3 separate regions of the Homo sapiens genome follow, and regions 2 and 3 are each linked to region 1. Evidence: promoter capture Hi-C in human tissues and cell types (Jung and others, 2019). All regions are on one chromosome and are shown on one strand. The core of a region is centred on a gene start or on the middle of the fragment in contact, and the rest is flanking DNA. Distances in the headings are between cores, read along the strand shown. Region 1 holds the start of AIG1 (androgen induced 1). Region 2 overlaps AIG1 (androgen induced 1). Region 3 overlaps HIVEP2 (HIVEP zinc finger 2).

Region 1 (3,368 bases), core at 562-3,061:
AAACGCACCAATCAGCAAGATTTTAAAAGTAGCCAATCGCAGGGAGGACTGAAAAAAGGGCACTCTCATAGGACAGAAACAGAACACTGGAGAGGACAATAAGGGAATAAAAGCTGGCCACCCCAGCCAGCAGCAGCAACCCGCTCCAGTCCCCTTTCATGCTGTGGAAGCTTTGTCCTTTCACTCTTCACAATAAACCTTGCTATCGCTCACTCTGGGTCTGTGCCATCTTTAAGAGCTGTAACACTTACCACCAAGGTCTGCCGCTTCATTCTTGAAGTCACTGAGACCACTAATCTACCGGCAGGAACCAATTCCAGACACATTATTAAGGTAGGTAGATCTTCAATAGATCTACTCTTTTTTATTTTTATTTTTTTGGCAGTTTATAACCATGTACCAAGGATGCACAATTAAAAAAATAAAGCCAACTTTTACATTAAGATTTAACCAAAAATCATCAATAATACATCGTTTTAATGCTAGTAGAATCTTCTTCTGACATCAGTTCTATTAGCATAATTATAATGCCAATTAAAAAAATCTAGTGGGTCTCTTCATTTTAGTTTAGAGCTTGATTGGAAACATTCAGGAAAACATCCATGGCTTGCTTGCTACTTTCTCTTTACCTCTAGCACTATGCTTCTCCCCACCAGCCCTCCCTCCACATCCTCTGACTCAGAGACTATTTGAAGAGGACACCTGTTTTAAATGGATCCACAGGAAATACCTATGTTGCCTTTTCATAATCCGAACCTGCAACTGGTTGGCTGAAATGAAAATGTTGCCCACAGACTGATGCAACTTCAGTGTGACAACATTTACTGGAAGGCAGGAGGGACTCCAGTTTATATTTATTTTCCTTCCATTAAGCCCTGGTAGTGTAGTGTAAGAAAAAAGTAAGGGCAAAACCAGTTTAACAACCAGATGATTAGTATTAAATTACACGCAGGGGTTTTACATCCAAAATTGGAATTTTTTAAAGCTGAATGCAATCTTGTGGCAGAAAGTTATTTGAAAATCCTTTCTTTATAGCTTTTTATCTATAAACCTCTTGTCCAAAGTTCATATTCTAGCTGATGTTATATACTGATATGACATTATTCAATCTGTCATGGAAAAGTGCTGCGTAGCCTACCCATTGAAAGCAGAATTGAGAGAGTTTCCTAGTGATTGACAGTCGTTTGTCAACACTGAAAACCTTATTGCCCCAAAATACTGAAAGTCACTCGCGGCTGCCTGTGCTCGGGTTTACACCCCACGTTCACACCCCCACCGGATCCCTCCGCACGGGGCACCAGCTCTCGGCCAACTGCAACTACCCCAGGAAGCGTCACCGCGATTCCGGGGCGGGAACATTTGTGGACACTGGGGTCCACTCCTTCAGTCTAGGTTCCCCGCCCCCTCGCCCGGCCCGGCGCCCACTAGCCACAGGGCCCGCTTCCCCCTGGAGATCAGCGCGCACTTCCCGAGCCCTCGTAGCACTCAGAGGTCGCATCCACACCTGGGATGCCTAGGGGGCGCCTCCTGGCCGGGTGTCCCGGGACCCTGCGAACGCAGGAGCAGAATGACGAAGGTGACGAAAGAGATGACGACACGCCGCCTGCCAGGCCGCGGCCGGCAGTGGAGAGCGTCCGCAAACCGCGCCCGGCCAGTACAGGTCACCCGGGCGCTCGCGGCCGCGCCAGTCCCCGGGGGCGCGCGCCCCGCCCCCGCCCCCGCCCCCGCCCCGCCCCGCCCCGCGCCCGCGCCCGCGCCCGGGTTCCCACGGCGCCCGCCCCCGCGCGCCCGGCGCCTCCCTCACGCCCGCCCTCCTTGCCGCCCAGCCGGTCCAGGCCTCTGGCGAACATGGCGCTTGTCCCCTGCCAGGTGCTGCGGATGGCAATCCTGCTGTCTTACTGCTCTATCCTGTGTAACTACAAGGCCATCGAAATGCCCTCACACCAGACCTACGGAGGGAGCTGGAAATTCCTGACGTTCATTGATCTGGTAAGGCCGTCCCCTCCCCCTGCTCGCCCCGCACCCCGTGCCTGTGTGTGCGTGTGTGTGTGTGTGTGTGTGTGTGTGTGTGGATGCGCGAGCACCTGCGCACGTGCGCGCCTCCAGCATCCACCCGTGTCCTCGCCTCTTCCCCAGTGATTGCGTGTGAAGGCCTGGCTGCCCCCGCAGCGGCACCTTCTGAACCACTCACCGTTACCTGGTAGCTGGGTACCCTTACCTGGCAACTGGGGGACAAATGGAGGTGGGGCGCAGCCAGGTGGTGGGCTCTTTGGAGGGGGACACCGAACTGCTTCTAAGAGGTGACACGGGAAGAATCTTCAACAAAAGCATCGGACCTGATCCTGAATGGCCTGAGACCCATTCGCCCTCAAGGTGCTTTTCAGAGCACCCACCGTGGGATGAACTTGTTGCAACTGAAGGAAACTGGGTATTGTCTAGTGATTTGGAACTTCACCTGAAAGAACCAAATCCTTCTCATAAGGGAGAGAAAGCACCTAATAAAGTTGTCTTCTTTGCATCTGTTTTTTTCCCCCATTGTCAATAATTTACTTTCAACCTTTACCCCGTACATATTAGGAGACAGAGATGTTCAAAGTGCATTTCCAAGGTGACTGTACACACTTCTCTGTCTTCCCATGTACAAATTTACAGTAGTTTGCATAAGCAGCTCCTCTGTTGGCACAATATGATAATCTTGACAGGTGCAGGTTATTATTAGTATATCATTTTGAAAGTTTTTCTATTTCTGGCACTAAAAGGCCCTCTTCAACCTCCCTGGAGAACAGAACATGGGCATAAGGCCCAATAATGAACTCATGGATGGACCTAGGAATTTCAGGGTAAAGGTGACTAAGACACACGCTAAAAGATTATTAGGAAGAGGCTTAAAACAAAAGCAATGAAGTTCTAAAGCACTCAGAGAAATTGTAGAACCAATTCCTGGGACTCCCTGAACTGTTTATCCAAGACTATACAGTTGGTTGGCTACACCAGCAAGATTATAATCTCTTGTTGACCCTCCATTCTGATGAAGAGAACATGATACCTGTTTTAAAAATTTCCAAAGGCTTAGGATGCCTCAAAGAAATGCAGAGAGGCTTTTGGTTTAAAAATAACACCTTATATTTGCATTATATTAGATACTTTCAGAGTGGAATTTCAATTCTGTTGCCCAGCAGTCTCCAAACTGTGCACATACCCTTAGGCCCACAAGACTTCACAGGGTATAGAATGTTGCAAGGGTTTTAATTTTCAGATCCTCATCTTCCAACTCTGCTTGAAACTAATTTCCCTCTGAACATGCGTGATGCCTGCCAGTTCTCCTTTCATTCTCCCCATTCATCCAAGTGAGGAGCCCGTGACAAGAC
Region 2 (3,250 bases), core at 469-2,968, 140 kb after region 1:
CCTTGACTCTCTGAGTAATGCTTGACCTATCAGGCAAGTCCCACTTTCTTGGAACTCTCTCTTCCTGGCCTCTGGTTTTGCTTTTCCGTTTCTTTGTAGGCTCCTCCTCTCCTGGACATTTACGTATTGTGTTGCCTCAGGACCATTGCTGGACTCTGCCTCTCTTCCTACAATCTCTTCTGGAGGGATTTCTTCCTACTCCACAGTTTCATCCCACAAAAGTCAACAAAGCACCCACATTTATATCTCATTTGAGTTCTAAACCTACCGAGTATCTCGTGGATTTCCCATAGACATTTCCTATGTAATACATCCATACTGAAATTTGGACTCCCACATCCCTCCCAAACCTATTTCCCGTCTCAGTAAATATCAGTCATCGCCATCTACCTTGCTGCTCAAGACAGTAAAGTAAATCATTTAGTTTGCAGAGAGTCCATGGGACAATTCTATCAGGAAGCCCAAGCAGATACTACTTTATTATGAAATATTCTTTGAACCCCAGACTGTTCCCAAAGTGGCTGAAGTTTGTAGTCCTTAAAAAGAAAAGTTCCCAAACTGAGTACAGTGGCTTGTGCCTGTAGTCCCAGCTATTTGGGAGGCTGAGGTGGGAGGATTGCTTGAGCCCTGGAGTTCGAGACTGTAGTGAGCTATGATCATACCACTGCACTCCAGCCTAGGTGACAAAGTGAGACTGTTTCAAAAAAAAAAAAATCTTAAAAATTAAAAAGGTAAATCTTTCTGATGTAACTTCATTGCTTCATAGCTGTTTGATTTAGGCACCAGTGCTAGCTTTAAATTTAAATCTGTGGTTGCCTTTGCGCTATATATTTTTAAAGGATATTGTGGGCTACTTATACTAAGAAGTTAAGCTCTTTGAGTCTGACCACACTTGGTTACAGACAGGACTATCCTCCGTGGGTCCCACAAGTAGAAGGGACCCTACGAATAATCTGAGAGATGCAGATGTTGCTCTTCTATCCATCAGATTAGAAATCCACCAGTGTGGACATCTCCAAAACCTTTACTATGCCCAACCTTTATTAACGCTTAATTCTCCTCTTTGTTACGGACCTGGGGATCCTTTCCTTCCTATCCTACTAGGTCTTGAGAAAATGAAATTAAAGTAGGCTTGCATTTTATTCAATCTGGAAAGGCACAATGATTTGGTGGAAAGATAGCCTGCTTCTAGTTCCACCTCAGGAACTAGCAAGTTAGTTGTAAACCTGATGAGTAGAGCCATCCTTACGTTTTTTCTGTACCTTCTTCCACATCAAACACATCAGAACAACGAACTCTGCTTGAGTATTTGCTTTGTGCCAGACACTGCCCTAAATAACAGATGAGGGAACTGAGGCTTAGAAAGTTAGTAAATGGCACAAAGATACCCAGTTAATGCAAACCCACAATTTAAATCCAGGCTATTCAAGTCTACTCTTACCAACTCTCTTATATCGTGTTGCCGAGAAACGACTTCTGGATTTCTTCTTCCTCTCATTCCTACTGTGCCATTGATGTAAGAGGTACCATCAATTTAATTTAATAACAGTTTTCAGGAAATAAAGTAAGCACTACCAAATCAAGTGTAGTTATAGTGGGCCTGCCTTTTAAAATTCTAACCAAGTTTTTTTCCTTCTTGGTAATTCCTTTTTTACTTCATGTCCCTGAAGCTAAAATCCTCAGGGACAGCTAATCACAAAAAAACAGGCAGATTCTTGGCTATTGACTTCTAAAATTGGGTCATGCAACTCATAAAAGATAGCCAGGAGCCAGGGTTGGTTTTTGATTTGGTTTGGTTTGAATTATAAGACAGAATTTGTTAAAGATAAACTTAAAAAAATTCTTTAATGTTTCCTTTGCATATCAAGGACTAAAGCCTGACAATTCTCACATCAACAGTAGAGTTTGGGGAGAATTAAGGATGATGTCAGAGAAGCTTCTTGTCCCAAAAGAGATTATGTTTTAGCTGCTGGCGGGAGGAGAATCTGCAGTTTAGGTGCTGAAGGACCCTGAGAAGGTTCTGCATTCCCTCGTGCCCCTGGAATGGGAGATCACTGAAACCCCAGAAGTGTTTTGAGAAATCCCAGCATATGGGGAACCTGGATTTGATTTCTAGAGCTTCACTTCCCGGGAGAGGAAGCAAGCAGCATCACAGAGGAGTGGAAGGCCGCAATCACTAGCGGAGGTGTCCCAGCAACATGGAAAATATTTTAAGATTCATGTCCCAAGAGGCTGCCCTGAGAGAGTCAGAAGGGCCTTGATAACCTGATGAGGGAACATCATTAGTAAATTTGATGTGCATTCTCTGTGCTGGAGGCTGTGGAAACAGAAACAATGTCTGCAGCAAAAGCAGTGTGGGTAGAAGTCTCCATCAAAGATGAGAAGGTAATGAACCAGATACCTCCCCTATGATGCCATGATACATATGGGCCTTCTTAGAATTACTATCCCAGGAAAAGATAAGGAAAGTTAGAACTCTAATTTGATCATGTTTAAATTCTGAATATGACTGCAAAATAACTGAACAAGATTTAATCTCTTGGAAATGGCTGTAGTTTCAGCAGCTGAATTACTGAAGGTCACATAGCTAGACAGTCCTGTGGCCAGGATTCTAGTCCAGGCAGTCTGACTTCACAGTCCATTCTCTAAACCTCCACACTGTTTTGTACTGTTCTATACTCTACTATCTCCATGTTTCCCACAGCCAGATGGAATAGTGGCTCGAGACCTTAAGTTAAATTACATTCAAGAAAGATAAAGGGTGATTACAAAATTCACCTTTTGACTTTCCACATTAATTTCAAGATGCATGTAAATTTCAGTAAAATGTTTTAGACTGGAAGAAGTTGAAGATATATTCACCTCTCTCCATCTCTACTACCAGTGCCTAATCTATGTCTTACCTAGACTGTGCCCTCTAAACTGGGGAGATTAGGCTTCTCTATGTACTTAGGAGCAAGAAAACTAGGACCAATGGATGGAAGCTTTAAAAACAGAATTCTGTATAGAATCAGAGAGAGTTTCTCACAGTCTCAGATATCCAGAGATAAAATGAATATCCTTGGTTGGATCCATGAGCCATATCCCTTGAGATGCTGTATCATGGATGAGACACCTACAACAAAGAAGGGACCTTATGAAGAAGAATTCGACAGAAGACATGGCTGGATGATTTTAGCCTTTTACGTCTCTTCCAATTTTGAAATTCTGCCACTTTAGAATGGAGGTTGTGAAAACCAAATTGCCTTGT
Region 3 (3,347 bases), core at 411-2,910, 160 kb before region 1:
ATTGAAGAATCCACAAAATATTAATGTTATAACTATGTTATAATACTAATGCATTATGCATTCCTGCTCGACCCCATAAATTAATGTACCAGTACCATATATGCATATATACCAGTACAAAATTGCAGAAAAAAAATGACTCCGGTGGTTCCCATTAATTCACACACTAATTCTGATATCAAGGTTAACAAAACAAAACAAAAAGGTGAAATCACCACTATGGTGGTGCTCTCTTGGACTCCTTTTTAAAGAGTGTTATCAACAAGGATGTCTTCTTAGAGTCTACGATACTCATTTCTCTCATCCATTTCATTCTTGCTTTATTGCTAATGATTGCACCAAAACAAAGCAAATGATTGCACCAAAGCAAAAAAAAAAAAATTCCATCTTAGTAGCAATTTGATACTTTAAATAAATCTCTGAAAACCTTTTCCACCAGAAGTGTCCTAACAGTGACAGATCATTTTGCACTATATACACAGAGATGGAACACAGCTATGCACTGAGGAATATGGAGGGGGCAGGAAGTGACTGAGATGCAGCAAGCTCACTTACCTCAGACTAAACACAAAACTTCATAGCAATATTAAACCCAAATTTCCAGTCATTTTTAGACTTAAAAACCCAATTCAGCCTGTCTGAATTTCAACTCGTATTTGGCAAGTACCTCCAAATGAAAAAGTGGGAAATTACAAAGATGAATTTGAGGACACACATTCTACTTTTGTTCCCCACTTGTCACACTTATCCTCCCCAAATATTATTTACCCATCTGTTTTATACATTTACCTTTAAAAATCATTTCCGGAAAAATTAGTAATTAACATTTTGAAAACAATGCTAGAGTAAAAAGGTTACAGTGTCACATATACTTTCCTTTAACAATGTAAATTACATAGTTCCTTGTAAAGCTGTTGTTCATGTTGAACAACAGGACCTCAAACTTGAAAAGGCAAAATTAAGCCTATGAGAAAACACAGTAGGTGCAGTATCAGAGGTGAATGTGACATTTCATTCCAAGCACTATTGCACACACACAACTGATAAATTTCCTACCAGTACACTCAAGTCTAAATCATAATTCAATATGGATATTAGTCCATACTCTTTCTGAATGAAAATAAGGCAACCCAATGAAACTGATGACATGATCAAAAAAAGATAAACAGCCCTTTTTACCCTTTAAAAGAACAAAGGAACATAAGAATATTTCTATTAATACTGATATTTTAAAGCATAACACCATAACCTATATTACTCAGCAAGATCAGTTTATTATCCATTTGTTTTCATTTATCCCGAAGATCATTCTTAGTCTTTCTACTTGTATCAGTTCAATTTGTTATCCTCACACTATTATTATCAGTTAAGTAACCCTGGGTAAACTGTGGTTTTCATATCTATTGACCTGGGATAACACAGGCTGATATGTCATTAGCATAAGCTTGTCCTAACAAGTATGACTCCTCTCCTTTTAAGATTTGTTAAAACCGACTTAATTATATTTTCTTAACTATCTTGATGATTTGGGTTGCCCACTTACTTTATAATATTTTGGATATTACAATTTATCTTTTTAAACTAAGGGAAAACAACCTTTCATTCACTTTTTAAATCCTTCCTCCATTGTATGAAATATTGGAAGACATATTGAATTCCCATCTCTAAATAAGAGTTAAGAAAGATACTGCTCAACCATCTACCAATAAACTATTACCAGATAACTTAGGTTATTTTAAAATAATTATAAGATCAATTAAACCAATATAAAGAAAATCTTGAAATGCACTATAAATTCCAAAAGTGCATCCTGTTTACACAATAAGATCTGAGCCTCAGAAAAAGAAAACCAACAAGGCATGATTTAGGTAATCAATACGGGGGCCCACTAAAATGATTTCTGCAAACGACCGGTGAGTTGAGCTCACATTTAAAAATGTACTATTACTTACATTTTAAAAGCAAGACACTGGAAAGTAGTGTTACAAATGCTCAAAAGCTCATGGAAAAAAATAATTTCCAAACATGGAGTGTTTTTCAAGTGTTTAATAAATATAAGTATTTTTGTTTTTAAAACCTGAGGTTAAATACAATTCTTAATTTACTAGCCAGATTCACTGTACTCAGAAATTCCTGCATATAGTTTTCATTTACTGTCTAATTTATCAATCTATAAATCTACATTTAATCTGAAAAAATTATATGACATAATAGACCCTTTAACTATTAATGGTTCAAACTGTTAATTCCCCCCACCATGGTCATGGTTTTAGAATATACAAGTCCGTAAGAATCCAAGCCACTTGACAGTAGACCAAGAAGCAACATAAAAAATGATAATCAGTCCGGGCGTGGTGGCTCACGCCTATAATCCTAGCCCTTTGGGAGGCCGAGGCGGGGGCGGACCACTGGAAGTCAGGAGTTCGAGACCAACCTGGCCAACGTGGCAAAACCCCATCTCTACTAAAAACACAAAAATTAGCTGGGCGTGGTGGCACATGCCTGTAATCCCAGCTACTTGGGAGGCTGAGGCAGGAGAACTGCTTTAACCCGGGAGGTGGAGGTTGCAGTAAGCTGAGATGGCACCATTGCACTCCAGCCTAGTTGACAGAGTGAGACTCTGTCTCAAAAAAAAATTAATAATAACAATAATCAGAGAACAACACTATCTTTATCACTGTAATTTTTAAATAACTTTGAAGGCATTCATGAAAAACTAACCAGAAACAGATAATCTAGATTAGGTAAAGCTAATATCATTTAAATGTGCAAAATAACAAAACGAGAATTAAATCACATTGAGAAATAGTAGAACCAAGTAGATATAAGGTAACAAGAATTAATATTTAAAATATATAAAAAGCTCATAGAAACTTACTTTTCAAAAAATAACTAAGAAATAAATTAGAAAAGATATGCCAAGTCAATCCAGACAAAGAAATGTAACAAATAAAGAAACCTCTTTAATTATTATTAAAATGCAAACCAAAACAACAATGCAGTCAAAATTTTTACTTTGGCACAATCATGATAAAAATGGGAAGCAATTTGAAAATGAGGACCATGTATGATAAAAAATATTCATTCCCTTTGAAAAACAACCCCAAAAGAAAAAAAAATGAATATTCAGCAATAAGGGGATTTTTAGAAAATTGTCACCATTAAATTAGATCAAAAATATGCAGCCATTAAAATCAGAATATGGTAATATGCAAAATGAAAGTGTTTATAAAAATGATTTTGAAAGTAAGGATTGTATCAATATCATGATTATAACTATTTCAAGTGTATGAATGTGGGCAAAGATCAAAGAATATACAAGGAAAAATTCTAAAAATCAAGTTGAT

The links. The method cuts DNA at HindIII sites, captures the fragments that hold promoters and counts their contacts. A contact is called where the count stands out against the background at its distance.
Region 2: a fragment that was not itself captured here is called in contact with the fragment with the promoter of AIG1 in region 1 in 2 of the 25 tissues and cell types used here (H1 embryonic stem cells and small bowel).
Region 3: a fragment that was not itself captured here is called in contact with the fragment with the promoter of AIG1 in region 1 in 1 of the 25 tissues and cell types used here (hippocampus).

The regions. Positions count from the first base shown.
Region 1 is chr6:143,059,078-143,062,445 of GRCh38, forward strand. It overlaps AIG1 (androgen induced 1), which reads left to right and starts at 1,812. Exons shown (of 6, transcript NM_016108.4): 1 at 1,812-1,989. The coding sequence starts at 1,849. RefSeq lists enhancers at 808-1,746, 1,572-1,701, 2,302-2,351 and silencers at 1,702-1,791, 2,042-2,111. The HindIII fragment of the contact is 7,626 bases long and covers 1-3,368 here.
Region 2 is chr6:143,200,656-143,203,905 of GRCh38, forward strand. The region is part of intron 3 of AIG1 (androgen induced 1); the gene reads left to right. Among named protein-coding and RNA genes, the nearest start is that of AIG1, 140 kb to the left of the region's middle. The HindIII fragment of the contact is 4,346 bases long and covers 1-3,250 here.
Region 3 is chr6:142,903,507-142,906,853 of GRCh38, forward strand. All of the region lies in intron 1 of HIVEP2 (HIVEP zinc finger 2), which reads right to left. Among named protein-coding and RNA genes, the nearest start is that of HIVEP2, 40 kb to the right of the region's middle. The HindIII fragment of the contact is 8,846 bases long and covers 1-3,347 here.